Regions from separate parts of the Homo sapiens genome. Here regions 1 and 3 are each linked to region 2. The links are contacts of gene promoters, found by promoter capture Hi-C in human tissues and cell types (Jung and others, 2019). All regions are on one chromosome and are shown on one strand. Each heading gives the region's core, a stretch centred on a gene start or on the middle of the fragment in contact. The rest is flanking DNA. Distances are from core to core; before and after follow the strand shown. Region 1 overlaps ERVK13-1 (endogenous retrovirus group K13 member 1). Region 2 holds the start of PRSS22 (serine protease 22). Region 3 holds the start of KCTD5 (potassium channel tetramerization domain containing 5).

Region 1 (3,951 bases), core at 1,327-3,826, 200 kb after region 2:
TGCTCCAAGAAATTCCAGGTCATTTAGAATGTGTTAAGATTGAGTTTCTGGGCTACACATCCTTATAAGAGCACCCGATTCTGGTTTCTGTTTATTTATTTATTTTTTCGAGACAGTCTCGTTCTGTCACGCAGGCTGGAGTACAGTGGCATGATTTTGGCTCACTGCAACCTCTGCCTCATGGGTTCAAGTGATTCTCGTGCTTCAGGCTCCCAAGTAGCTGGGATTACAGGTGCGCACCACCTACATTATTTATTTATTTAATTTATTTATTGAGATGAGGTCTCACTATGTTGCCCAGGCTACTCAAACTTCTGGTCTCAAGGGATCCTCCCGCCTCGGCCTCCCAAAGTGCTGGGATTACAGGCATGAGCCACCGCACACAGCCTGATTTCTGTTTAAAGAGTTGGATTATACAGGGACCCACAGAATTGGGAACTGACAGTACTGTAGAGCCTGTGTATGAAAAAGATGGACAAGCCTGACATTAGCAGCTCACTGTTGAGCACACGGCCCCCTGCAGAATAAACAAGTGTGTGGTTTCCATCTGATGAAGGTGGGCATGTAGTTCCTGGACAGTCCAGTGACTTCCATCATTCCACAGACAAGATCAGATGCCCTCTCTACCAGCCACCGTGCTGGGACCGGCCCAATCTGTGTTTCAAATCAGCTTGTAGCACGCAGGGATTCAAAATATTTAAAGATGAGGTTTGAAGGTACGTCTGGAGACCAAGGACGTTAGTTCTGGAGGTCCCCGTCTCCTGCGTGTTTGCGGAGCTGGTGACAGTGCCCTCTCCCCGTGCTGGAGAGGGCTGAGGAGAGGCTGTGTGTCTCAGCAGGATGCCAGTCAGGATTCTTCTGGCTATGGGCTTATTTTTTGCAATAAATTCATCGTTAAAGTCCCATTCTTTAACCTGTTTTTTCCCTTTTGGAATTAATTCGACTGCAGTAGGAAGGGGTTGTAGCTGAAAGTGACCGCTGTGCATTGAATGCCATCAGAAAAGGCTGATGAGATTTGCAGGGAAGACTTGAAGCCTCACTGAAATGCGCCTGGCGTGTGTTGACCTTTGCAGTGGAACATGTGGGAAAGGGGCCCGCACTCACTTTTCAGTTCTGCCTCGGTGATTCCAGGAGCCCCGGGGTTGGGAGCGGGGACAGGACCTTGCTCCTGAGTCTTAGGTGTGGTGTCTCTCGCCCCTTGCTGCATTGGCGGGACCCTCGGTGCCGCGGCCTCAGTTGCAGGGCGGCCAGGGCTGCTCCGTGAAGGAGGCGCTCACTCCATGGAGCTGCAGGACGCTGCATTCTCCTCACTCTGGCCATTGCCGCTGTCCTTCCTGCTTCCCCTTTTCTGGTGAGGGAGGGCTCCAAGGACTTGCTGGCTGGTCCCCAGATGCCAGCACTCCTGCATCTTCCCCTCCTCTCCTGGCCTGTCACTTTGTTCCTCCTCTGTGAGGGGCCCAGGCTCGGATGCCCGGCCACGGCCTCTCTTTCCAGCCTGTGCGGCCCAGGTGGGTCCAGGATGTTCCCTGCTGCCCTGTTCTCAGCAGTTCTTGTCTTCTTCAGGCTTTTCCTCCTTGCCTAGAGAAATTTCCCTACATGGAAACCCCTGTGGCTGTACAGTCTTTTCTGACCAATCTGCTGGGTTTTTTGTTTTTTGTTTTTGAGACAGAATCTTGCTCTGTCGCCCAGGCTGGAGTGCATTGCAGTGAAAGTGGCAATATCTGGCATTTGTAGATGGAAGCTGGAACTCAGTACAGGTGGGAACGTAAGCGCCTGTCGTTGCTGAGGTGGGGCAGCAGTCAGTTGCCAGCGCGTGTTCAAACACAGGCTGATTCAACAGTTCCCGTTCTGGGAATTTAAGATCGGAAAATAATTAAAGTGTATGCAAAGATTTTGCTACTAGAATATTTGTCACAGCTTTGAAATAGGGGAGAACTGGAAATATCTTGAATTTCCCTCAGGCAGAGATAGGTAGAAACATTGTGGTGAAGTCTGTGTCGTCCCTCAGGATCTGTGGGAAATTGGTCCCAGGACCTCTCTCAGATACCAGAGTCGGAGGGTGCTGAAGCCCTTGCTCTGAAGTGGTATAGTGTTTGCATATAATCTGTGCACACCCTCCTGTGTACTCTGTCATCACCAGATTACATATAATGCCTAATGTAATGTAAATGCTATGTAAATAGTTGCTTTACTATATTCTTTAGGGAATAATGACAAGAAAAAAAGTCTGTGCATGTTCAGTACAGATGCAATTTCTTGTTTTTCTAATATTTTCTATCCACTGTTGGTTGAATCCATGCATGTGGAGTCAACCTATGGATGGGGATGGCAGACTGTACTCTCCTGACAGGTGGTTACAAAGTATTTCTATCTGAAAAGAGCTGGCTGCAAAGCAGCATGCCCAGTATAACTTTCCTCAGGCCCAGGGAAAAGCTTGGAGGGAGGTTCCCACAGAAACATTAGCAGTGGTTTCCTGGGCCAGTGGGATAAGGACCAGGCATTGTGCTAGCAGTGGAGAAACAGTGGTGAATAAGGTAGGTCTGGCTCTGTCTCCTGGAGCTTACTGGACTGAAGATGAACCTTTCTCCACTAATTTTTATTCTGAAAAATTTCAAAACTAAAGAAGAGTTGAACGCATAGTACAATGAATATCCCTAGCCTTTCACCTGGATTCTACCAGTTGTTAACCTTTTCCATATTTGCTTGTATATGTTACCCTCTCACCTCCCCAAATTTTTTTCTATTATTTTTATTATTTGAAAGTAAGTCACACACATGATAGCATTTCACCCCAGAATCCTTCTCCAGGTGCCTTCTGAGCTCAGAAGCTGTCTCCTCTACAACCTCATCATTATCACATCCGAGATAGAATTAACATTGCATTTTCTTTTTTTTTTTTTTTTTGTTTTTTTGAGATGGAATCTCATGCTGTTGCCCAGGCTGGAGTGCAGTACTTTGATTTTGGCTCATTGAAACCTCCACCTCCTGGGTTCAAGTGATTCACCTGCCTCAGCCTCCCAAGTGGCTGGGACTACAAGTGTGTACCACCGTGCCTGGCTAATTTTTGTATTTTTAGTAGAGATGGAGTTTTATCATAACATGGCATTTTCTAATGCAAAGGTGACATGCAGCCTTCCTCAGTGGTCCCCAGTCCTCCTCAAAGTCCTTTATAGAGACAGTTTTACTCTGTTGCCCAAACTGGAATGCAGTGGTGTGATCATAGCTCACTGCAGCCTTGAACTCCCCTGGGCTCAAGCCATCCCCCAGCCTTAGCCTCCTGAGTTGCTGGGACTACAGGCCTGTGCCGCCACACCTAGCTAATCTTTTTTTTTTTTTTTTTTGAGATGGAGTCTCAAACTTGTCACCCAGCCTGGAGTGCAGTGGCACGATCTTGGCTCACTGCAACATCCGCCTCCCAGTTTCACGCCATTCTCCTGCCTCAGCCTCCTGAGTAGCTGAGATTACAGGCATGCGTCACCATGCCTGGCTAATTTTGTATTTTTAGTAGAGACGCGTTTCCACCATATTGGCCAGGCTGGTCTTGAACTCCTGACCTCGTGATCCAGCCTCCTTGGCCTCCTAAAGTGCTGGGATTACAGGCGTGAGCCACTGCACCCAGCCTAATTTTTGTATTTTTAGTAGAGGCAGGGTTTCACCATGTTGGTCACGCTGGTGTTGAACTCCTGACCTCACATGATCCACCCAACTTGGCCTCCCAAAGTGCTGGGATTAGAGGCATGAGCCACCATGCCCAATCTCTGCACCATGCCCAGTATCCCTTAGTGGCCCTTCTGACTTTACACTGCTTTTCCCTCCTGACAGCGGGGCCCTGCTTTCGTGGTCTGTATCCTGCTTGAGCAAGGTGCCATGAGGCTTTTCCTAGGCCTTGACTTTGCTGTAGCTTCTAAGGTGTCCTGTGGCGGCAAAAGGGACGTGTGCTCTGTGGGTGGG
Region 2 (3,933 bases), core at 1,250-3,749:
GCAGAAAAGCTGGAATGGAGAGGAAACCTGGGCGGGAGGCAGAGAGGGAGGCTGGAGTGGTCGGTCCCCAGCCACTTGCAGACTTGCTTCTTCCACACTCATTTATACATTCAACAAACACTCGCTGAGCCCCAGGGTGCAGCAGGCACTGAATATGATCCTGGGGGTCCACAGGGAGCCCCCCTGCCCACACTGTTTCCCCAGCACCCAGCTTCACAGTGGCCCTCTAGGGTCCAAGCCACCGCCTGGTCCCATGGTTCTGTGCCCACCTCCCGGACACCTCCCTGTCATCCGTCATCTGCCTCCCACCCCTAGGAGGTCATGTGCTTCCTGAGCACAGGACCTGCGTCTTATTCATCACATGTGTCCTGGTGCCCACCAGGGCCTGACATACAGCAGGTACTCAATATATGTTTGCTGGGTGAGCTGGAGAGGCCACCCACCTTATTCCAGAAGGCAGTGGGGTGGGGCGCAGGAGGGCCCTGGACGCCCTGGGTGCAGAGCTGAGCGGGGGACAGTGAGTAGGGTTGGGGGAGCCCAGCAGAAATTTCTGCTGCAGTGCTGCTGCTGCTCAGAGACACTGCCCCTCCTTGGCCACTCTGCGTGGCCTTTTCCTGCAGTTCCCCCAAACCCCCTCTGAGTCCTGGGACAGAGAATAATGCATCCTCTGGGGCTCCCCAGGGCCCTGCTGTTTGACTTGTCTCTCGGTGGAGCAGGGCATGGCCTCTCTGCCACGAGAAAGTGCCAGTCGTCCTGCTGCCACCCTAACCCTTAACAGACTGAGGAGGTGGGCAGCACAGAGTCCACCCCCAGGGCAAAACCCGTCCTGCTCAGAGCCATGGAGTCCCTGAAGCAGCCATGGTGGTCTGCTAAGCCCCTGACCCACGCCACCCTGACTCTGCAGGGAGCAAGTTAGGGCTCACCCCAGGCAGGGTGAGGCACCTCCTCCAGGCTCCCGAAGCCTCCATGAGGGCAGTCCCAGCAGCCACCCCCAGTGTTGGGGTGCAGGTCCGGCTCCACCACTCACCCAGCAATCTCGGGCAAGTCACTTAACCGCCCTAAGCTGCCTCAGTTTCCTTATCTGCAGAGTGGGAATAATAAAGACATTTGAGGATTAGGAGGCAATGCATGGCACTCCTAAATGTTTGCTCTATTATATAAATACTATATTTATATTTGTATAAATATATTTATTACATACATATTCACTACTATGGTTTTTTTTTTTTTTTTTTGAAACAGAGTCTCGCTCTGTCGCCCAGGCTGGAGTGCAGTGGCGTGATCTCAGCTCACTGCAACCTCCGCCTCCCAGGTTCAAGCGATTCTCCTGCCTCAGCCTCCCAAGTAGATGGGACTAAGGGCGCCTGCCACCATGCCTGGCTAATTTTTTTTTTTTTGTATTTTTAGTAGAGACGGGGTTTTACTATGTTGGCCAGACTGGTATTGAACTCCTGACCTCATGATCTGTCCGTCTTGGCCTCCCAAAGTGCTGGGATTACAGGAATAAGCCACCCCACCCAGACACTATGGTTGTTTTTAATTCACCCCCGGCGGTAGCAAGGGCCCTGCTGGAGGCTTGTTGATCGAATGAGTGAAGGGGCGCAGGCTCCTGCCTCTTTGTAGAGGAGGAAGCCTGCCCTGCTTGGGTGGGAGTGTCCCAAGTGTGGGGCGCTGCAGGGCACTGAGTCAGGGAAGGTCTCACAGGATTCAGCCCCGGGTTGCCACTGTGGCAGCCGCTGGGGGGAAGCACCGAGAATCCACTCCCAGCCCAGGACCCGGCCCCCCACAGCCCAGCCCAGCAGCTCTTTGAATCCTGGGAGTCCCAGCCCTTCCCGGGGCCCCTCTTCTCTCAACCCCCCTGCTTGGCCGAGCCCTGGTGCCCATGGGCTCCTCCCCTTCCCAGGAGTCCAGGTGAGGTGAGTTGTCAGGTGTCTGAACCGCAGGGCAGAGCCCCGCCTCCAGGAACGACAGGAGGGCGGCCACCAGGAGGCCACCAAGGTCGCCACTCACCTGATTCACAGCTTTCGGGAAGTGGGTTAACGGGATTCCCAAGCCCGGGTTGCGCCAGGTCTCTGGGCTGAGTCACAGGGGCCTGGGGCCCTGCAGGTGGGAGCCGTTACTGAGCTTTGGGCACCCCCTTGATCCCTAAGGCCCTAGGACCACCCCCAACACCCAGTACCCCAGACTTCAGCCTCTCCAAACCCAGGCCCTCCCCAGCCCGGAACCCCTTCCTTTCAGTGCCCTGGCACCTTTCTCTGCCCCTGGACAATTAATGTCAGGGACCTCTGGGCCCAAGCCCCCTCCCCTGCCCTTCCAGAGGCCACATCCTGGGGTCTCAGCTAGAGCCCCCCCAGAGCCCTGTAGCGGCTGGCTTCCTCCCCGCAGCCCCGCCCTCTGCCCAGGACCCACAGCCGGGGTGGCCGCGGGAGCCACCTGGGGACTGGTCTGACGGCATTCCGCCTCCCAGGATAAAACCTGGGGCGACCTGCAGGGAACCTACACACCCTGACCCGCATCGCCCTGGGTCTCTCGAGCCTGCTGCCTGCTCCCCCGCCCCACCAGCCATGGTGGTTTCTGGAGCGCCCCCAGCCCTGGGTGGGGGCTGTCTCGGCACCTTCACCTCCCTGCTGCTGCTGGCGTCGACAGGTACGTCCGGAGGCTGCTCCTCCCTCCTCCCTCTCACCTCCACCCTCCTTCCCTCCTTCCCTCCCTCCCTCTCTCCCTCCTGGCCTTGCCTCTCTCATCTCCTTTCCGCTTCTGCTCTGTTTATCTCTTGCTCCTTAACTGCTCTGTGCCTCGGTTTCTTCTACGGCTGTGAGGATGAAACAGAAAACGCAGCAAGTACGCAGCGCGCCTCGGTCTCCAGTTACCGTCGGCGTCGCCATCGCCTGCTCCCTCTCGCCTCCGTGTTCTCCCATCTCCTCGTCCTCCGCTGCTTGCCTCTGGGGAAGCACCGTTTTGTGTTGTTCCTGCCGCAGGAGGTCAGGGGAGGGCACACCAGCGGCAGCAGCGTCCAGAGCCGAGGGGCTCAGGTCTGTGCCTCCCTCGAGGAGCCGGTCCTGGTCCCCGGAAGGCAGGCTGGACGGGAAGCTGCGGGAGGGCAGGGTCACAGCTGTGCAGCCAGGGCCTGGCCAGGCCCCAGGAAATGCCCCGCCGGTAGGGGCCCTGGGGTTGAGAGACTTGAGAGTCTCCCTGGGCACTGGAGGGCTAGAGGTTCCTCACCACCAGGTACTCAAGGGGACCCCCTCCTCACTGGGCGCTGGGACGCCTGCTCACTGGGCGCTGGGACCCCTCCTCACTGGGCGCTGGGACCCCCTCCTCACTGAGCGCTGGGACCCCCTCGTCACTGGGCGCTGGGGACCCCTCCTCACTGGGCGCTGGGGAGCCCTCCTCACTGGGCGCTGGGGACCCCTCCTCACTGGGCGCTGGGGAACCCTCCTCACTAGGCGCTGGGGAGCCCTCCTCACTGGGCGCTGGGGACCCCTCCTCACTGGGTGCTGGGACCCCTTCCCACTGGGCACTGGACCCCTTCTCACTGGGTGCTGGGGGCTTCTCGCTGGGCGCTGAGGGACCCTCCTCACTGGGTACTGGGACCCCTCCTCACTGGGCGCTGAGGGACCCTCCTCAGGGGGTGCTGGGACCCCTCCTCACTGGGCGCTGAGGGACCCTCCTCACTGGGTGCTGGGACCTCCACCTCACTGGGCACTGGGATCCCTTCTTACTGGGTGTTGGGGGCCTTCCTCACTGGGCGTTGAGGGCCCCTCACCACTGTGTCCTGGGGCCCCTCACCGGCCTAACCGTTTCCTTCTCTTGCCCTCAGCCATCCTCAATGCGGCCAGGATACCTGGTGAGTGGAGCTGGCAGCTCTGACGGGAGGGAGAAGGGAGGAGGCCCACGCGCAGGCAGTGTCTATGTGTCCGTCCCCTGGGCACA
Region 3 (4,218 bases), core at 1,585-4,084, 180 kb after region 2:
CTCTCGGTTCAAGTGGTTCTCCTGCCTCAGCCTCCCGAGTAGCTGGGAGTACAGGCACGCGCCACCATGCCCAGCTAATTTTTTTGTATTTTTAGTAGAGACGGGGTTTTGCCATGCTGGCCAGGCTGCTCTCAAACTCCTGACCTCAGGTGATTCACGCGCCTCGGCCTCCCAAAGTGCTGGGATTACAGGCGTGAGCCACCTTGCCCGGCCCCTACTCCAATTATTGTATGAGACAGAGACGACTGTATCTGCTACTTTACCTTCATGTTCTGAATTTGAGTTTACCATTTGGAAATCAAACCTGGTTAAATGGATGATGATGAAAAGAGCAAGTATAACACAGATATATTCAGAAAGATTAATTACCCCTCGCTCAAAGAATTGATTCCTACAGTAAAGCATTTTTTTGTTTGTTTGAGACAGAGTCTTCCTCTGTCATCCAAGCTAGAGTGCAGTGGCGTGATCTTGACTCACTGCAAGCTCCACCTCCCAGGTTCAAGCGATTCTTCTGCCTCAGCCTCCAGAGTAGCTGGGACTACAGGCACGCGCCACCACACCTGGCTTATTTTTTTTTTATTTTTTTTTTTTTGTGATGGAGTCTTGCTCTTTCACCCAGGCTGGACTGCAGTGGCGCTAACTAGGCTCACTGCAAGCTCCTCCTCCCAGGCTCACGCCATTCTCCTGCCTCAGACTGCCTAGTAGCTGGGACTACAGGTGCTCGCCACCGCGCCTGGCTCATTTTTTGTATTTTTAGTAGAGACAGAGTTTCATCATGTTAGCCAGGATGGTCTCGATCTCCTGACCTCGTGATCCGCCTGCCTCGGCCTCCCAAAGTGCTGGGATTACAGACGTGAGCCACCGCGCCCACCTTTTTGTATTTTTAGTAGAGACCGGGCATCACCATATTGGCCCGGTTGGTTTTGAACGAGATCCACCTGCCTGGGCCTCCCAAAGTGTTGGGATTACAGGCATGAGCCACCGCGCCTGGCCCATAATTTTTAACAAAGTCTTAAGGAACAGTAAAGCAAAGGGATCAACCACCTTAACTGTGCTAAAGTTCATCAACTGGGAATCAAGTGCTCCAGTGCTGAATAGACAACCATTGCCTCAAAGAACCCAATGGACAAGAGCAATTTAAACTCTAATTTCATATACAAAACAGGAATGCTTGAGTAGAAAGGCAAGGGAGTGACCACTAAGCCCTGTTATTTAAAAAGAAAAACCAAACAGTAAAACATACACCCACACTTATAAAAGGAAAATCACAGCTAACAAACGCCTATTTCTATCCTGGGGATGACTGTCATTTCCTGGGAGGTCAATTCTCTGAGTAGAGGGCTTGGTCAAATGAGCAATGGAAACAGTTGGAAGTTGTGGGGAGGCACAGGAGGGTTGGCATCTCAAACCCTCATTTCCACCCACAAGGCTGCCTTAGCAGTAACTCCAGATTCTCACTTCCTGATCACGGTCATGCCATGCTGAGAATGGTCTCAGTCAGGCTTCTCAAACTTGAAGAGGGATCCGAACCTTTCTGGGAAGCCTCCTGCATGGCAAATGTTGGCTGCCAAGGCACAAAGCCAAGCGCAGTCATGTAAGCTCAACTGAAAGACCCCGCAAAGTTAGTATAAGGCTTGTGAACTGCCTTGAATAAATATAGGTAACAACTTCTTCAAACAGGCTTTTTTGTGAGTTTCAATCCTGCACAACTCCCAAGACACGGTTCCTCGGCTCCACAACTCTTGATAAATAAAGGTAGCAAAAGGTTTCTATTACCATCTACCCAACAGCATGAGCATTTCGCTTGATGAAAGACAAGCTGCAAACTAACCTGGAAATTCCTGTCCTTTTGCGAAGACAGTGGGAAAACTAAGCCAATTAGAAAGCAGATTGAAAGATTCCTTACCTGACCCTTCCTGGACATCCCTAAAGCAACCCTTAATATGAGCAAAATCCCCTTCGAAAAATCATACTATATACTACGGACGCATCTTCTAAGAGGTGCTGAGTGGGTGCTGCGTGCTGTGGATGGAAAGGATGGAGCGCCAACTCTCTAAATGCAAGTCACCAGGGAAAAAAAGGGCCGCCCATATCAACCCCCACGTCAGCGTTAATTCAAACGTCCAGAATGTGAAACAACGCCAAGGGTTCTGTTTCCAGAGCCAGCAAGTACCCTGGGACAGAGAAGAGAAGGCGTTCACACACCCTGGGCAAAAGAACCTAGTGAGAAAAAGAAAGTAGAATCACAGCAAAGTCCGGGGTCTAGGAAGCCTCCTCCACCAAAGAGCAAAGAGGGCGAGGAAGAGACACCCCCAAGGTGAATCGACTCAGGATCCTCAAAGGCAGTGGACGCCAGGGCGCCATCCTCACCCTCCCCTCCCAGGGTAGGGGATCGGGGCAAGCTGGGGAGGAGCTGGCGACAAGGGAGCGCGGGGCTCGAAGCCCGAGGAGAGTCGCCCGCTCCCGCTGAAGTCTCCTCCGCACGAAGCAGGGCGTGTGCAGGAGCCGCAGGCCGGGAAGGCCAGGACCCTCCGGGCTGGCCCGTGAGGCCCTCACCTTGTCTGAGTCCAGGTCGGGATCGGCCTGGCATAAGCGGTACAGGAAGGATTTCGGGTCCCGGCACAGGGTCTGCCGAGTGGTGAGGAAGTAGGTGCCGCCGACGTTGAGTCGGACCCACTTGGACACGCTGCCAGGGCGCTGGGCCAGGGCGCCGAGCCCAGCGCTGCAGCGGCGGCACAGGCCGCCCCCCAGCCCCGCCCCGATGCCGCCCCGGGCCGGCGACAGGAGCTCGCAGTGATTCTCCGCCATGATCCCAGCAAGCCCCGCAACAGCTCCCTTCCACCGGAAGCGTCCGGCTTTTAATAGCGTCCTCTGAGTTCTGTCCCGCCCACAGGTCCGCCCTGGTAGAGCGCCCGCCCCGGCGTCACGCGGTAGGCGGAAGTTCCGGTCCCGAAAAGCAGGAGGCTGGGCCCGCTTCCGGCGGGAGCGGAGCACGGGGTGATCTGGGCACTAACGCTGATGGGGAGCAGCGGACATCAGCCTCGACCTCCCACGAGCGGTGCACGAGCGCCTGACCCAGACCTCGACCCTAGCCTTCACCCCCACCCTGACTCCAGTTCATGAACTGGTCAAAGGAAGAGCCATGCCAGCAAACGTCTACACTGTACATGCTTTTTATTACAAGACTACGGAGCATAGGAGGAAAATTCATCATCTGGTAACTACACCTAAAGCACAAATATTTGGGGGGAAAAAAAGAACAGATTCATTAAATTATATGATTAAATCATTGACCCAATAGAAAATTTATATAATAAGGGCGGGGCCTGGTGGCTCACGCCTGTAATCCCAGCACTTTGGGAGGCCGAGGCGGGAGGATCAGGCGGTCAGGAGATCGAGACCACGCTGGCCAACATGGTGAGGCCCGGTCTCCACTGAAAATACAAAAATTAGCCTGGCGCGGTGGTGGGCGCCGGTAATCCAAGCTACTCGGGAGGCTGCGGCAGGAGAATGGCGTGAACCCGGGAGGCAGAGGTTGCAGTGAGCTGAGATCTCGCCACTGCACTCCAGCCTGGTGATAGGGCGAGAGTCTGTCTCAAAAAAAAAAAAAGAAAGTTTTTGTAATAAAGCCAGAAAAAAGTTGTAAAATATATAGTAATTATTCACATTCAAGGCTGTATATCAATACATATAACAACGTGGCCCCGAACATGAATTCAATACAAATAATTCATATATTAGAATTTAGGCCGGGCGCGGTGGCTCATGTCTGTAATCCCAACACTTTGGGAGGCCAAGGTGGGTGGATCACGAGGTCAGGAGTTCAACATCAGCCTGGCCAAGATGGTGAATCTCCGTCTCTACCAAAAATACAAAAAATTAGCCAGATGTGGTTGTGGGCGCTCGTAATCCCAGCTACTCGGAGGCTGAGGCAGAGAATTGCTTAAACCCAGGAGGCGGAGGTTGCAGTTAGCCGAGATCAGGCCACTGCACTCTAGCCTGGGCGACAGAGTGAGACTCCGTCTCAAGAAAAAAAAAGAATTTAAATAACAGGCTGAACTAGAGGCCAACAATAGCCAGCAAATAACCTTCTATAAGATTAAAAACACAAAAGTGTATATCCTAATACCATTGTATTATTTGTTTTCATGAGTTCTTTTAATTTTTGCTTTGTCTGTACATCACAGTTACAGCTACAGACCAGGTAGAGAATATTAC

What was found. Contacts are between HindIII fragments. The study calls those that stand out against the background at their distance.
Region 1: a contact is called between a fragment that was not itself captured here and the fragment with the promoter of PRSS22 in region 2, in 2 of the 25 tissues and cell types used here (dorsolateral prefrontal cortex and spleen).
Region 3: a contact is called between the fragment with the promoter of KCTD5 here and the fragment with the promoter of PRSS22 in region 2, in 4 of the 25 tissues and cell types used here (IMR-90 fibroblasts, aorta, lymphoblastoid cells and 1 more).

Annotation. Positions count from the first base shown.
Region 1 is chr16:2,655,343-2,659,293 of GRCh38, reverse strand. It overlaps ERVK13-1 (endogenous retrovirus group K13 member 1), which reads left to right. Exons shown (of 3, transcript NR_040023.1): 3 at 1-905. Among named protein-coding and RNA genes, the nearest start is that of ERVK13-1, 16 kb to the left of the region's middle. The HindIII fragment of the contact is 7,363 bases long and covers 1-3,951 here.
Region 2 is chr16:2,856,736-2,860,668 of GRCh38, reverse strand. It overlaps PRSS22 (serine protease 22), which reads left to right and starts at 2,499. Exons shown (of 6, transcript NM_022119.4): 1 at 2,499-2,646; 2 at 3,821-3,847. The coding sequence starts at 2,565. RefSeq lists enhancers at 1,313-1,912, 1,913-2,513, 2,514-3,114. The HindIII fragment of the contact is 21,792 bases long and covers 1-3,933 here.
Region 3 is chr16:2,681,139-2,685,356 of GRCh38, reverse strand. KCTD5 (potassium channel tetramerization domain containing 5) reads right to left here and starts at 2,834. Exons shown (of 6, transcript NM_018992.4): 1 at 2,557-2,834. The coding sequence starts at 2,808. RefSeq lists enhancers at 2,152-2,201, 2,272-2,321, 1,866-2,476 and a silencer at 2,572-2,751. The HindIII fragment of the contact is 14,940 bases long and covers 1-4,218 here.